Linked DNA regions of Homo sapiens: all the other regions are linked to region 4. The links are contacts of gene promoters, found by promoter capture Hi-C in blood cells and fetal thymus (Javierre and others, 2016). All regions are on one chromosome and are shown on one strand. The core of a region is centred on a gene start or on the middle of the fragment in contact, and the rest is flanking DNA. Distances in the headings are between cores, read along the strand shown.

Region 1 (3,310 bases), core at 371-2,870, 420 kb after region 4:
GTTCTTTCCACCCTGAGAAGCCCATCAGCCCTTTCAAAGCCCAGACTCTCTTAATCCAGGTACAGTGGAAATAAACTGTTGGGAAGAAACTGAGATAACTGGGATAGAAGTGAGGGAAGAGGTGGCTAGGCCTGACCGGAATGTAGAGGCCGGATAGCCTATTAACAGTGTCTAGTTTTAGCTTTTGGAGCCAGCTGCCTAGCTTCAAACCACAACTTCCTAATTGGGTAATGTTGGGCAAGTTCCTTAACCTCTCCATACCTCAGTCTGCTCACCTGCAAAATAGGGGTAACACTACCACCTGCCTCACAGGGTTATAAGGAGTATAACAGTTAATATAAAGTTCTTACAATTCCTGGCACACAGGAAGTGCTATAAAAGAGGCTGGCTGGGAGCGATAGCTTACACCTGTAATCCCAGCGCTTTGGAGGCCAAGGCAGGAGGACTGCTTGAGCCCAGGAGTTTGAGACCAGTCTGAAACTGGTCTCAACAAAAAATTTAAAAATTTTGTAGAGACTCCCGTCTCTACAAAAAATTTAAAAATTAGCCTGGCATGGTGGCACATGACTATAGATAGTCCTGGCTACTCAGGAGGCTAAGGCTGGAGGGTCACTTTAGCCCAGGAGATGGAGGTTGCAGTGAGCTATGACTGCCCCACTGCATTCCAGCTTGGTCAAGAGTATGATCGTGTCTCTTTGAAAAAAAAAAAGTGGCTGCTGTCATTAGCATGCCTACTTTCAAACTGTTGAATTTCTACCTGGATCCATTTAATTTATTTGTTTATTCTGAGACAGAGTCTTGCTCTGCTGCAGGCTGGAGTGCAGTGGCATGATCTTGGCTCACTGCAACCTCCGCCTCCTGGGTTCAAGTGATTCTCCCATCTGAGCCTTCCGAGTAGCTGGGACTACAGGCGCCCGCCACCATGCCTGGCTAATTTTTGTATTTTTAGTAGAGATAGGGTTTCACCATGTTGGCCAGGCTGGTCTCCTGGTTTCAAGTGATCTGCCCACCTCGGCCTCCTGAAGTGTTGGGATTACAGGTGTGAGCCACCGTGCCCGGCCTTTGGGTGCATTTTAAATTGCAGATAGAATACTAGAAGAAAATATATTACCCATGGAGGATGTTTTACAAACCAAAAAGCTTCTTCTCCCCTGGGGTTGGGAGTAGGGTCGGGTGGGGCTGGGCTGAGCAGGAACTTGTGAGATTCCAGAGCCCTGACTACAGGTGATCAGCGGTCAGCAACTCCCCAAAGTGGACAAGACCAAAGAGGGGTCCATTGTGGATCCACTGGTGAAAGTGCAGATCTTTGGCGTTCGTCTAGACACAGCACGGCAGGAGACCAACTATGTGGAGAACAATGGTGAGAAACTGGCAGTGCTGGGGAGGTGGGGGTAGGAGCATGATTAGTTTTCCTTCTAGTCTGTCTTCCATTAAGTATAGCATCTGTTATTGCATGTCCCCACATGGGAGGCAGTGTGGAACAGTACAAAGAATCCTGGCTCTTCACTTAAAAGCTCCAGTGACCTGGGCAAATTACTTGCTTACTCTGAGCCTTTTTCCTTACCTGTAAAATGCTGATTGCCATCTAGATTAAATGAGAACACAAGAAAAGCAACCCAGTCAAGAAAACTGTCATAATGTCTTCTTATTTCTTTCTGTCCACCAACTCAGGTTTTAATCCATACTGGGGGCAGACACTATGTTTCCGGGTGCTGGTGCCTGAACTTGCCATGCTGCGTTTTGTGGTAATGGATTATGACTGGAAATCCCGAAATGACTTTATTGGTCAGTACACCCTGCCTTGGACCTGCATGCAACAAGGTGAGCCAGCCCCTTTGGCCCCTGGCCAATACCCCAGCTCTGGCTGCCTTCCTAATGCTGTCCTCCTGCCCCTTCCAGGTTACCGCCACATTCACCTGCTGTCCAAAGATGGCATCAGCCTCCGCCCAGCTTCCATCTTTGTGTATATCTGCATCCAGGAAGGCCTGGAGGGGGATGAGTCCTGAGGTGGGCATTTCACGGGAAGGGTTGGTGTGCTGGCTTTAGACGGGGAGAAACATCTGGAAGGATGCTCGAGAGAACAAATGGAGGTGGTGAAAATCAAGCTTTGGATTGTGCATTCCTAGGCACAAAATTACCTCATTCTTCCTAACAAGCAATCTGGGACCTGATTTTCCACCTTTTTTCTCTTTTCTTCCCTTCCTTTGTTTTCATAAGCCTTTGGTATCTTTCCTGCCCTTTTCCTTTGTGTACTCTATACTGGAGTTCCCTTCTTCCTCTTGCTGTAGGCTCAATCCCATACCGACATCTACAACTAATCTTTCCCATCAACTCTGTGTGAAGGCAGGTTGCAACTAGAAATTCAGAGGGGCTTGGAATAGAGAAACCTAAAGAAGCATCATCCCCTCCATCCCCAACTTCCTCAAAGCCCAAAGCCAAGGGAAGGATAAATCAAGGCTCAAGGCTTCCCCAGCAAAGATTAGGGAAAGAGACTTGACCCCAGGACTGTACTACGACTCTTAAGAGAACACTGCACAGCACTCAAAGTCCCCCACTGGACTGCTTCCTCCTTAGCCCCACTGGTATAAATACATCTCTCTCCAATTTGGCTTCAATATGGTCTGTCATTGTTGGGCAAGAAGGGGAGGTACAAGGGTTGTGGGGACATCTGGGTAGTCAGGTGAGACAAGGAAAAGGTAGAGAAAGAGGTTCCCAGGAGACCTCTTGCATGTGCTACATAGGAAGGACACAGAGTATGGCTTTTAAGAATCAGGGCAAAAGCAGACAAAAGGTTATGTGGTCCCAGCCTTCCTGAAGAGTCTGGCTGGAACCATCCTGGTTTATGTCTGTTGTCCCAGCATAATTATTAATAGTACCCTCTTTAAGTTTTCCCAGTGTGTCTCAGTTTAGATGATCAATTATATAGTAAGGCACTACAGAATTATACTGTGAAGCAGTTATAGAATTCTGAATTGGAGATTTTCCTCTCTAGTCATCTGCCTTTCCATAGTATCCTTGTGCTTTAACACCTTAGTGTAGCTGCTGAGCCAGTCTGAGGATTGATGATGAGCTAAAGTTGCTTCTAGGAGGAGGCTTAGTGGGTAGCAATCCTCCCTCTATAGATACAGGTAGACAAAGGAGCTTGGAAGTAGGGAGCAGGTCAAGGGTCAAGATGGCTCAAGGACAGGGAGAAGGCAGACCTAGGCCTGTTTCAGTATCAATACTGAGTGAAGATGGAAGGGACAAAAGGGAGGCAGAGGTCTGAGAGGGGACAGAGTTGATCAAGATGACAGCCTGGAAATGTTAAGAC
Region 2 (3,211 bases), core at 606-3,105, 470 kb after region 4:
TACTTGACTTATGCAGAAGCTTCAGTTTCTTCATCTATAAAATGGCTAATTCTATTTATTTCACAGGGTTATTGTAAATATTAAATGAGCAGATGCCAACATTTAGAACAGCTAATGGAATATTATAAAATACTTGGTGTAAATGTTCTTCTTTTGAAGAATAACCATTTAAAAATACAATACTGGCCAGGCATGGTGGCTCACGCCTGTAATCCTAGCACTTTGGGAGGCTGAGGTGGGAGGATCACTTGAGGTCAGGAGTTTGAGGCCAGCCTGGCCAACATGGTGAAATCCCATCTCTACTAAAAATACAAAAATTAGCTAGGTGTGGTGGTGGGCACCTGTAATCCCAGCTACTTGGGAGGCTGAGGCAGGAGAATCACTTGAACCCAGGAGGCAGAGAGGTTGCAGTGAGCCAAGATTGCACCATTACACTCCAGCCTGGAGGACAAGAGTGAAACTCTGTCTCGAAAAATAAATAAAGGGCAAAAATAAATAAAAATATAATACTATCCTTAGCATGCAGGCTGTATACAAATAAATGTTAGGCTGGATTTGACCTGTGAGCCATAGTTTGTCAACCCTGATCTAGAGTTGAATAATGTTGTTTTGTCTTTCTGTGGTTAAATAATATTGTTTTATATGCATTGTTTTGAATTTTCAGAAGCATGTGCGGTGCACGTGTTTTTTGTTTTTAAGGTGAAGGGCTGGAGAAGGGAGGGAGCAGATGGGAATGGCACTTAGTCTGACAGAGATCCTGAGGAGAGGCCCCTATCCGTTGGTCACTGGTGTTCTGTGTTAGGTAACCTGACCATCTATTGTCTTCTTCCCTGGTACAGTTCCCCTATTTCCCTGCTTTCCTTCTCTGTGTTTTAGACTTGCAAAGAAAGGAATGCAAGCATGTGGTCTGCTTTCCCAGCTCCTTGGGGATGCTTGGTATGTGTAGTTCTCCTTCTTTTACCTCTGAAAATATCAATCGTTGCCTCTTTCCCTCATGTCACCCAGATCCTGAAAGGCATCTTGGAGGGTGCTTCCCACATCCTGCCTGCATTCCGGGTCCTGAGCAGTCTTCTCTCCAGCTGCAGTGATTCTGTTGCCTTGTATTCCTTCTGCCGGGAGGCAGGGCTTCCTGGGCTGCTGCTGAGTCTACTCAGGCACAGTCAGGAGAGCAACAGCCTCCAGCAGGTAAGCACCAGGCCAGAAGCCTCTGAAGACTTACAGAGGTTCTTTTTCTTGGATTTATCTCATTCAGATTGCCATCTCTCTTTGGTCTGACTGCCTTTTATTTTCTTTCCTCCTCTTTCTAGTTAGTAGACTATTAATTGCAAACTCTAATGCCTTCTGGGGCCAGGCAGATAAGGTCTGCCATGAAGTAGGCTATGCATGTGACTATATGAGTTGTGGGGAATATGATGAACTAGAGTTCACATGCCTCCTCTAAATAGAGTAGAGGCATCCTTTCCTCAGCCTCCAGCCCATTGTTGCCACAGGGAAATATGGGCCTGAGAAAACTAGCCAGATCTTCTAGTTTTCTAAGAAAAGGTAGAAACCCAAATTTTTATGTGTAATTTTTAAATATTTAGAGCGCTGTGCTTTGAAATGTTAGATCCTAGGCTTCATTGACCTGATCTTACAGAGCAGAGTACTAAAATTCAGAGGTAACTCATACACAGTCACTAATTTGTAAATGGTCACAGAGATAACAAGTGGAAGAGCTGGGATAGAGACTCAATGTGTTTGGGGCCAAACCTCTACTTCCCCCTGCTGTGTCCTACGGTAGCTGGACTGAGAGGATGGGGAATGTTTCAGAGTCAGTGTAAATGCCTAATAGGGCCTAGGATGAGGCAGCTGGAAAGCTGCACTTTGTTGATGAGTATTAATCTTGGGTGATTTTAAGGAATTTAGAGAAAAAGATTTTTGAAAAATAGAACCTCCTATACTCCAAAATGCTATTCAGGCCAAACAAGACACATTTAATCCAGGCTGTTCACAGCCCATTGGCAGATTCTCTGTTACCCCTAGAACTCTCTCTCTGCCTATACTTCTCTTCTGTCCCTTTCTGTTTGATCAACTTGACTGGGTCTCTATACACCCTTTCTACTGTTTTTTCTATTCTTTGTTTCCATCCTTCACATTGCCCTTACTCTCTTCTCCTTTTCCTGGGCAGCAATCTTGGTATGGGACCTTCTTACAGGACCTGATGGCTGTGATTCAGGCCTACTTTGCCTGTACCTTCAATCTGGAGAGGAGCCAGACAAGTGACAGGTAGGATAAGAAGTGCTTTTGCATTGTTGGCAAGTTTGGCTTCTGTTTCTACCCCAAGTGCCCTTCCCATTTAGGAACAGGCCAAGTATGAAGAAGCTGTGATTTGTTACAGGTTTAGGAATCAGCTGAGTGGCCACTCATAGTCCTTTTAAGGACCCTAAGACAGCTCCAACTTGGCCTCAAGACTTACAGTTTCTAAGAGTCAGCAGTCACCATGGTCCTAAAATGGAAGGGTCAAGATGTGAATAACCTATTCCAGGAAGCCAATTGGATTAAAGAAAGAAAGAAAGAAAAAAAATATGCGAATAACCTAGAGAAAATGGCAAAGAAGGGGCTTGGAGGGTGTATGTGTGTGTGTGGCAAGGGAGAAGGGAGGAACATTCTGATGTGTCCCTTTGCAGAGATTCTCCTACCTGCCCAGGACTGACCCATTCACCACATCCAGGCTTTTAGTAGAGAGATAAGAAATCATGGGCTCATTTTCCACCCCCAGCCTGCAGGTGTTTCAGGAGGCTGCCAACCTTTTTCTGGACCTGTTGGGGAAACTGCTGGCCCAACCAGATGACTCTGAGCAGACTTTGCGGAGGGACAGCCTTATGGTAATCTGCTCCCACTTCCAGATTTCTGTGTCTCCTATCATTCTCCGTGTTTCTCCCATCCCCTTTCTTATGACTATGTAGGGTCAGATCAAGTTAATATGACAAACATTTGTTAAATTCCCACCATGCCATATGCCATGTGAGTAAGAAAAAGTGCCTGCCTTCAAGGGACTAGGGATAATTTAATAGGGGAGAGGTAAAGGGATTAAGGACAACAGTGAAAAGTACATTAGAACTTTGCATATAATACAAGAGCACTGCTGTATTTTATGAAGAAGATGCAGTTAACCACTGCAGAAGATGCACTTAACACTATTTGGAGTATCATAGAAGAAATCTCGAAGAAG
Region 3 (2,962 bases), core at 311-2,810, 270 kb after region 4:
TTCAATTACTTCAGGCAGTGATTTAACACTAAAACAAAGTAAAGCAAAATTAAAATCTCCTTCTTGGTCTGATTTCTTTTCTTTTCTTTTCTTTTTTTTTTTTTTTTTGAGATAGGGTCTTGCTCTGATCACCATTCACTGCAGCCTTCATCTCCCAGGCTCCAGCAATCCTCCCACCTCAGCCTCGAGTAGCTGGCACTACAGGTGTGTGCCACCATGCTGGCTTTATTATTTTATTTTTTGTAGAGATGAGGTCATGCTCTGTTGCCATAGGTGGTTTCAAACTCCTAGGCTCAAGCGATTCTCCTGCCTCAGCCTCCCAAAGTGCTGGGATTACAGGCATGAGCCACTGCATCTGGCCATTGATCTGATTTTACCTTGGAGTCATATTATGTAATTCAGTCATTCTTTTGATTAGATACTAAAGCCTTTCTATTTCAAAAGGGAATATAAAGACATAGTCTCTCAAGGACTTACATTGCCATATGTGCACTCCAACCAAGGGTAAAAGGTGGTTTTGTATTTTCAGTGCAATGAGATGACAGGGTCAGGTATCTTGGAATGATGACTTGCTGCCCAATCTTATTGTTAAGCGAGAGAGCCACATTGAAGCTATATCGTTTCAAATGGAGAATGAGGACCCTGAAAAACAGGAGATGACAACCTTACTAATTCATACATAATACATGTATCTTTCTTACAGTAAAAGAGATCACTCTATGTTAGACGACTTTTGATTTAAAAAATCCATTTGGCCAAACCAAAGACACGTCAAAGAATATTTACTGAATACCTGTTAGTGCCAGGCATTGGGCTAGGTAAAAAGCATACAAATAATGGTGGATTAGTGTGGTTTGGGTAAAATACTTATAATGTTCCTAGAAAAAACACAAATAAATAAAATATAGCAGACAAGAATGTTAAATTTGGCACTGATATTGGGTTAAATCCTTAAATTATTTACTTCACTGTTACATAGTTTAAAAAGCAATAGGTTTTATATAACCACTACTAGTAAAATAATGTCTATTAAAATGTTACATAGCTCTTATATTTGATGGTAAACATTAATTACTTCAAGATGATTTTTGATGAGAATTATTCTTTTATTTTCAGAAGTACTTTCTCTGTAGAAAGCTAAGGAGGAAATACAAAACTTTTCCCCATTTAGAAAAAAGCTTTACAAAAATTTGCATGCCAAATCTGATCTGTGGGTCTGTAAAGGCTTTTAGCTCTTTAGAAGCACTGAATTCTTTGTGGTTAAAATTGTGGTAACCTTTTCACTTCTCACACAGAACACGATCTCTGCTTGATGGATTAAATATATTTCTCAACCCACAAGAACACTTTAAAAATTGAATTTCAAACATCTTATGGGAATAAACTTCAGTTCTAGGCACACACACAAAAATGATCTATAAAAAACTGATTCTTACCATATATGCCTTCATCACAGAAGCCACAAACAAAAATTTGCAAACTGAAGTTATAGATTGTAGTTCTCTTTAAAAAGCGTGCTAGAACTCAGGATCTTCAAATATACAATTTGAGAGAATACAAGGACACAACTGATATGAAACCAATGTCAAAATTAAATATTTTAACTAGAATTTCAAATAACCTAACCAAAATAAAAGGTAATATGAGGCTACTCTGGACACACTGCCTATAGTGTAGCCCTGCTATGCATGGAGCAGTAAAAGGTGGGGGGGAAGGTAATATAAAACAGGAAAATGATAGTCAAAATCACTGATCTTCAAAGATGAGGCCCAACTTTGTGAACAGATTTGATAATGGCATCAGGCTCTTCAAGAATAAGAGTGGCTTTGAATATTAAACTGAACAAAAGTAGAACAAGACTAATCATTAGGATTTAAAGAGTGGCTTTGAATATTAAATTGAACAAAAGTAGAACAAAACTAATATTAGGATTTGACAAACAGAAGCTTCTATCACATAAGTCTGGAATAAATTAACCTTTAACACAAGTGATCTACCAGGAAAAAAAAAAAAAAGAAAAAAAAGAAAGAAAAACAAGGAGAAAAATTCCCCTTAGCATTTTTTTCCCCCCACTTGAAAAACCAAATAGCAAGAGAATGGGAAAGAGAAAAGACATCCAGCATGTGAGGTCAAAACTAGTCTTTTTAACTGTACACATAATTTCCTTAGTGACAGCTGGTAACAACCAATTCTTTGCCTTAAGATTCTTCCTCCCACCTTCCTGGCCTCAAACCACTCACAAACAGGAAAGAACAAATTCTCTTAATCCAAAAATATAAGTCTCTTAAGTCAATATAATAATACTGCTATGATTTATACACTTGAGGAGGCCGAGGCGGCCACATCACCTGAGGTCAGGAGTTTGAGACCAGCCTGGCCAACACGGCGCGACCCTGTCTCTACCAAAAACACAAAAATTAGCCAGGCGTGGTGGCGCGTTCCTGTAATCCCAGCTACTCAGGAGGCTGAGGCAGGAGAATCGCTTGAACCCAGGAGGCGGGGGTTGCAGTGAGCCGAGATCATGCCACCGCATTCCAGCCTGGGCAACAGAACGAGACTCTGTTTGAAAAAAACAAAAAACACAACATTTTTTGTAGAGATGGGGGTCTCACCATGTTGCCCAGGCTGGTCTTGAACTCTTGGTCTCAAGCAAACCTTCCACCTTGGCTTCTCAAAATGTTGAGATTACAGGCGTGAACCACCACACCCAGCCTTTATAAAGTCATTTCTTTAAAACCAACTTCCTTGGCCCGGCGCGGTGGCTTATGCCTATAATCCCAGCACTTTGGGAGGCCAAGGCAGGTGGATCACCTGAGGTCAGGAGTTCAAGACCAACCTGGTCAACATGGCAAAACCCCGTCTCTACTAAAAATACAAAAATTAGCCAGGTGTGGTGGCATACAGCTGTAATCCCAGCTACTCGGGAGGCTGAGGCAGGAGAATCGCTTGAACCCGTGAGGCA
Region 4 (3,078 bases), core at 402-2,901:
TGAGCTCGGGAGGCGGGCAGTGAGCAGAGATAGCAACGTCACTCCAGCTTGGGTGACAAGAGTGAGACACCATCTCAAATTAAAAAAAAAAAAAAAAAAAGGCCGGGCATGGTGGCTCACGCCTGTAATCCCAGCACTTTGGGAGGTCGAGGCAGGAGGATCATGATGTCAGGAGTTCGAGACCAGCCTGACCAACATAGTGAAACCCCGTCTCTACTAAAAATACAAAACATTAAAAGGGCATGGTGGCAGGCACCTTTAATCCCAGCTATTTGGGAGGCTGAGGCAGGAGAATCGCTTGAACCGGGGAGGCAGAGGTTGCAGTGAGCCGAGATCATGCCATTGCACTCCAGCCTGGGCAAGAGTGCAAGACTCTGTCTCAAAAAAAAAAAAATTTAAGTTAGCGTATAATTTTAGGGGATCAGCAATATCCTGAAGCTTATCCATAGCCCGTTAAGTAATGTTTCAAAGGGCTATCTGTGCCTTAATGATAGGAGCTAGTTTCTTGTTCATTTTTTTATCCCCATCCCCAAACACATAGCAGAAAATAAATTATTTCCTTGTATGTAGAACGGACTCAGCTAAGTTTATTATATTCTCCCCGGAGGAGGGAAAACACAAAACAAGGCACAAAGGCAGAAGGTGCAGATGTAGCACAACGATGAGTTAAGATTCCGCACGCAGGTAACAAGGAGGGTATGGTATATCTCTGCCAGAGGTACTGGAAGGTTTCAAAGGCAGAAAAAAATGTGTTCCGGACACCTGGACGCAGAATTGGAGGCATGACAGGAACACAGGGAGGCCCATCTAAGTTGCCTATTCACCCAGGTGACCTCTCTTTCATTTCTTTAATTGTCCTTTTAACAATATGGGGAATTTCACCCAAGGAAAGGGTCCTCTTCTCGCCCCAGCAGGCAAGGGGTGTTCCTCCAGCGCAAGTTCCGGCCCCAGCTGCCCCCACGTCCCACAGGTCTCCTGCCTTTTGGCACGCACACTCCTGACCACTCGCTGCTTCCGCATCCCTACTCTGATCCTCTCCCCATGCATCTCTGCCTCCTTAGACAACTGAGAATTTTATTGTCTGTTTCCTTTGCCAGACTGTAAGTTCCACGAGGGCAGGGCCTCGTCCATTTCATTTACCACTACATCCCCAGTATAGAGCAAGAGCCCATGAAAATGTTTGTTGGAGAAATGAATGCATGATGGTGTCGCTGGACAGCTATACCTGGAAAGAAAAAGAGGCACCCCCATCAAACAAGCTGGGAGCTAAGAAGCCCGCTGGGAGACGACAAGGGCGAGCTTCTTGCGAGGTTTCTGAAATGACAAGACCGGAAGAATGGAGTTGGATCTCTGGGACAAGCGGGAGAGAGAAGCTGAACAGTCAGGCAAGCCTCGGGGAATGACAGCTCCGCGGGGGACGCACTGGTAGGCGGTAGACGTAAGCGGGGTCGGTGGGAAAGTAGACGGTGGGGCGGCGGCATCACACATACGCAAGCGCAGCCTCCGTTTCCTCCGGCGCGCCTGCGCTCGCGTTCACGAGTGGTTGAAGCGGAAATGGCGCCGCGGGGCCGCGCGTCCAGGCGGCGAGCGGAAGTGGGTGTGAGAGCGGAAGTGGCCGGCTAGAGCCGGGGGCTGGGCGGGGACCGGGCTTGTCGGTGAAGCGGCAGTGGCGGCGGCGGCGGCGGCTCGGCAGGCGGGTTCAGGCTTCGGGGGCCAGGTCGGTTGGGTGGGTGGGTGTCTCCACAGTCTGCGTGCGTGGGCCAGCGCGTTCGTCTTACCCTTCCCTCCACCCCGGCCCCTCTCCCCTTCTCCCCTAACCTCCTACCCCACCCAGCCCCACTCAGGGGGCAGCAGGGCCGCTCCCTCCGTCCTTGCCTCCCTTACCCACCCTCACCGGCCCTTGTTTCTCCTTCCCCTGGGGGCAGCCGCCGCCATGATCCTGCTGGAGGTGAACAACCGCATCATCGAGGAGACGCTCGCGCTCAAGTTCGAGAACGCGGCCGCCGGGTGAGCGCGCGCCCGGGGCCGGGGGTGGCGGGGGAAGCAGAGTTGACCCCAGCTAATCCCCAATGTTGTCCAGTCCCCCAGACCTGGAGGAGAGAAATGGGGTGCCTGGCAGGGTGTAGGGGCTGCCCCAGCGGGGTAGACGTGGGAGGCGATTGGGCGCGGCCGGGCGAGGGGCAGAGATGCGTGGGGAGAGGCTCAGAGGAGGGATGCGGAAGCAGCGAGTGGTGAGGGCTGTGCGTGCCAAAGGGCAGGAGACCTGTGGGACGTGGGGGACCCTGGAGCCGGAACTCGCTCCGGAGTAGCCCCCTGCCCTCTGGGGCGAGAAGGGGACCCCTTCCCTGCGTGAAATTCCCCGGCATTGTTCTGAACCCAGAGAGAGCCTGTTTGGAATTGGGTTGGAAGGAGTTTTCAGGAATTCCCAGGACTGGAGGAGGGAAGGAGATGCAGGCCCACATCGCCACCAGCATTCTCGTTCCCCACCCCCATCTCCTTTAAAAGGAGCAGAAGAGAAGACTAAAAGCCGACCCAGTCTTAGAGCCGGAAAAACGCGATCTCTGGTTTCCCTTCCCCGAACCCTTCTGTGAGAGACACTGGGCCATTTTGTTACATATTTTTAAAGCAAAGCCAATTGTCCCTCGCTCCACACCCCTTCCTTATCTCTCCTTTGAGGTTCTAATGCTCTCTCCTCACCCACTAGCCTTTATCTGGTTATCTTGTAAATTCTTACATCAAGACCCTAGGTCTGTGATTTCTTCTGTGGTAGCCCTGGCCCAGTTACACACTTCAAAGACTCCAGAATCTATAAAGTTCTTAGATAACCTGTCTTTACGATTGGACTTTTTAAAAGATGGGCTTAGGGCATCTTTCCAAGGCAGCCTCTCTGCCAAACACAAGAATCAGTAGAAGACAATCTGCTCCTCCAAAGCTGCTTTGCTTTTCTAGTATAATATTTAAAACATGAGCTAAGGATTTTGGGTTCTAATTTTTGGTGGCCTGTGGCCAGTCCCTTTGCCTCATTTCCCTATGTATGAGCATGGGGCTTCACATCTGGGTTTCACAGTTAATAAGTGC

What was found. The method cuts DNA at HindIII sites, captures the fragments that hold promoters and counts their contacts. A CHiCAGO score of 5 or more calls a contact.
Region 1: a fragment that was not itself captured here is called in contact with the fragment with the promoter of ARPC2 in region 4 in 1 of 17 cell types (non-activated CD4 T cells); the score reaches 5.4 in non-activated CD4 T cells.
Region 2: a contact is called between a fragment that was not itself captured here and the fragment with the promoter of ARPC2 in region 4, in 1 of 17 cell types (fetal thymus). The highest score is 5.4, in fetal thymus.
Region 3: a fragment that was not itself captured here is called in contact with the fragment with the promoter of ARPC2 in region 4 in 3 of 17 cell types (non-activated CD4 T cells, monocytes and neutrophils); the score reaches 5.8 in non-activated CD4 T cells.

What each region holds. Positions count from the first base shown.
Region 1 is chr2:218,634,572-218,637,881 of GRCh38, forward strand. It overlaps PLCD4 (phospholipase C delta 4), which reads left to right. Exons shown (of 16, transcript NM_032726.4): 13 at 1-59; 14 at 1,225-1,360; 15 at 1,672-1,821; 16 at 1,900-2,604. The coding sequence ends at 2,006. It overlaps ZNF142 (zinc finger protein 142), which reads right to left. Exons shown (of 11, transcript NM_001379659.1): 11 at 1-3,310. Among named protein-coding and RNA genes, the nearest start is that of ZNF142, 23 kb to the right of the region's middle. The HindIII fragment of the contact is 965 bases long and covers 1,139-2,103 here.
Region 2 is chr2:218,687,692-218,690,902 of GRCh38, forward strand. It overlaps STK36 (serine/threonine kinase 36), which reads left to right. Exons shown (of 27, transcript NM_015690.5): 12 at 1,006-1,185; 13 at 2,168-2,265; 14 at 2,759-2,864. Among named protein-coding and RNA genes, the nearest start is that of STK36, 17 kb to the left of the region's middle. RefSeq lists a silencer at 1-28. The HindIII fragment of the contact is 3,676 bases long and covers 18-3,211 here.
Region 3 is chr2:218,481,593-218,484,554 of GRCh38, forward strand. USP37 (ubiquitin specific peptidase 37) reads right to left here. Exons shown (of 26, transcript NM_020935.3): 17 at 478-642. Among named protein-coding and RNA genes, the nearest start is that of VIL1, 64 kb to the left of the region's middle. The HindIII fragment of the contact is 768 bases long and covers 1,177-1,944 here.
Region 4 is chr2:218,215,538-218,218,615 of GRCh38, forward strand. ARPC2 (actin related protein 2/3 complex subunit 2) reads left to right here and starts at 1,652. Exons shown (of 11, transcript NM_152862.3): 1 at 1,652-1,717; 2 at 1,926-2,007. The coding sequence starts at 1,934. LOC101928487 (a long non-coding RNA gene) reads right to left here and starts at 1,649. Exons shown (of 2, transcript XR_923908.2): 1 at 1,491-1,649; 2 at 564-1,314. RefSeq lists an enhancer at 1,661-2,264 and a silencer at 1,786-1,835. The HindIII fragment of the contact is 6,430 bases long and covers 437-3,078 here.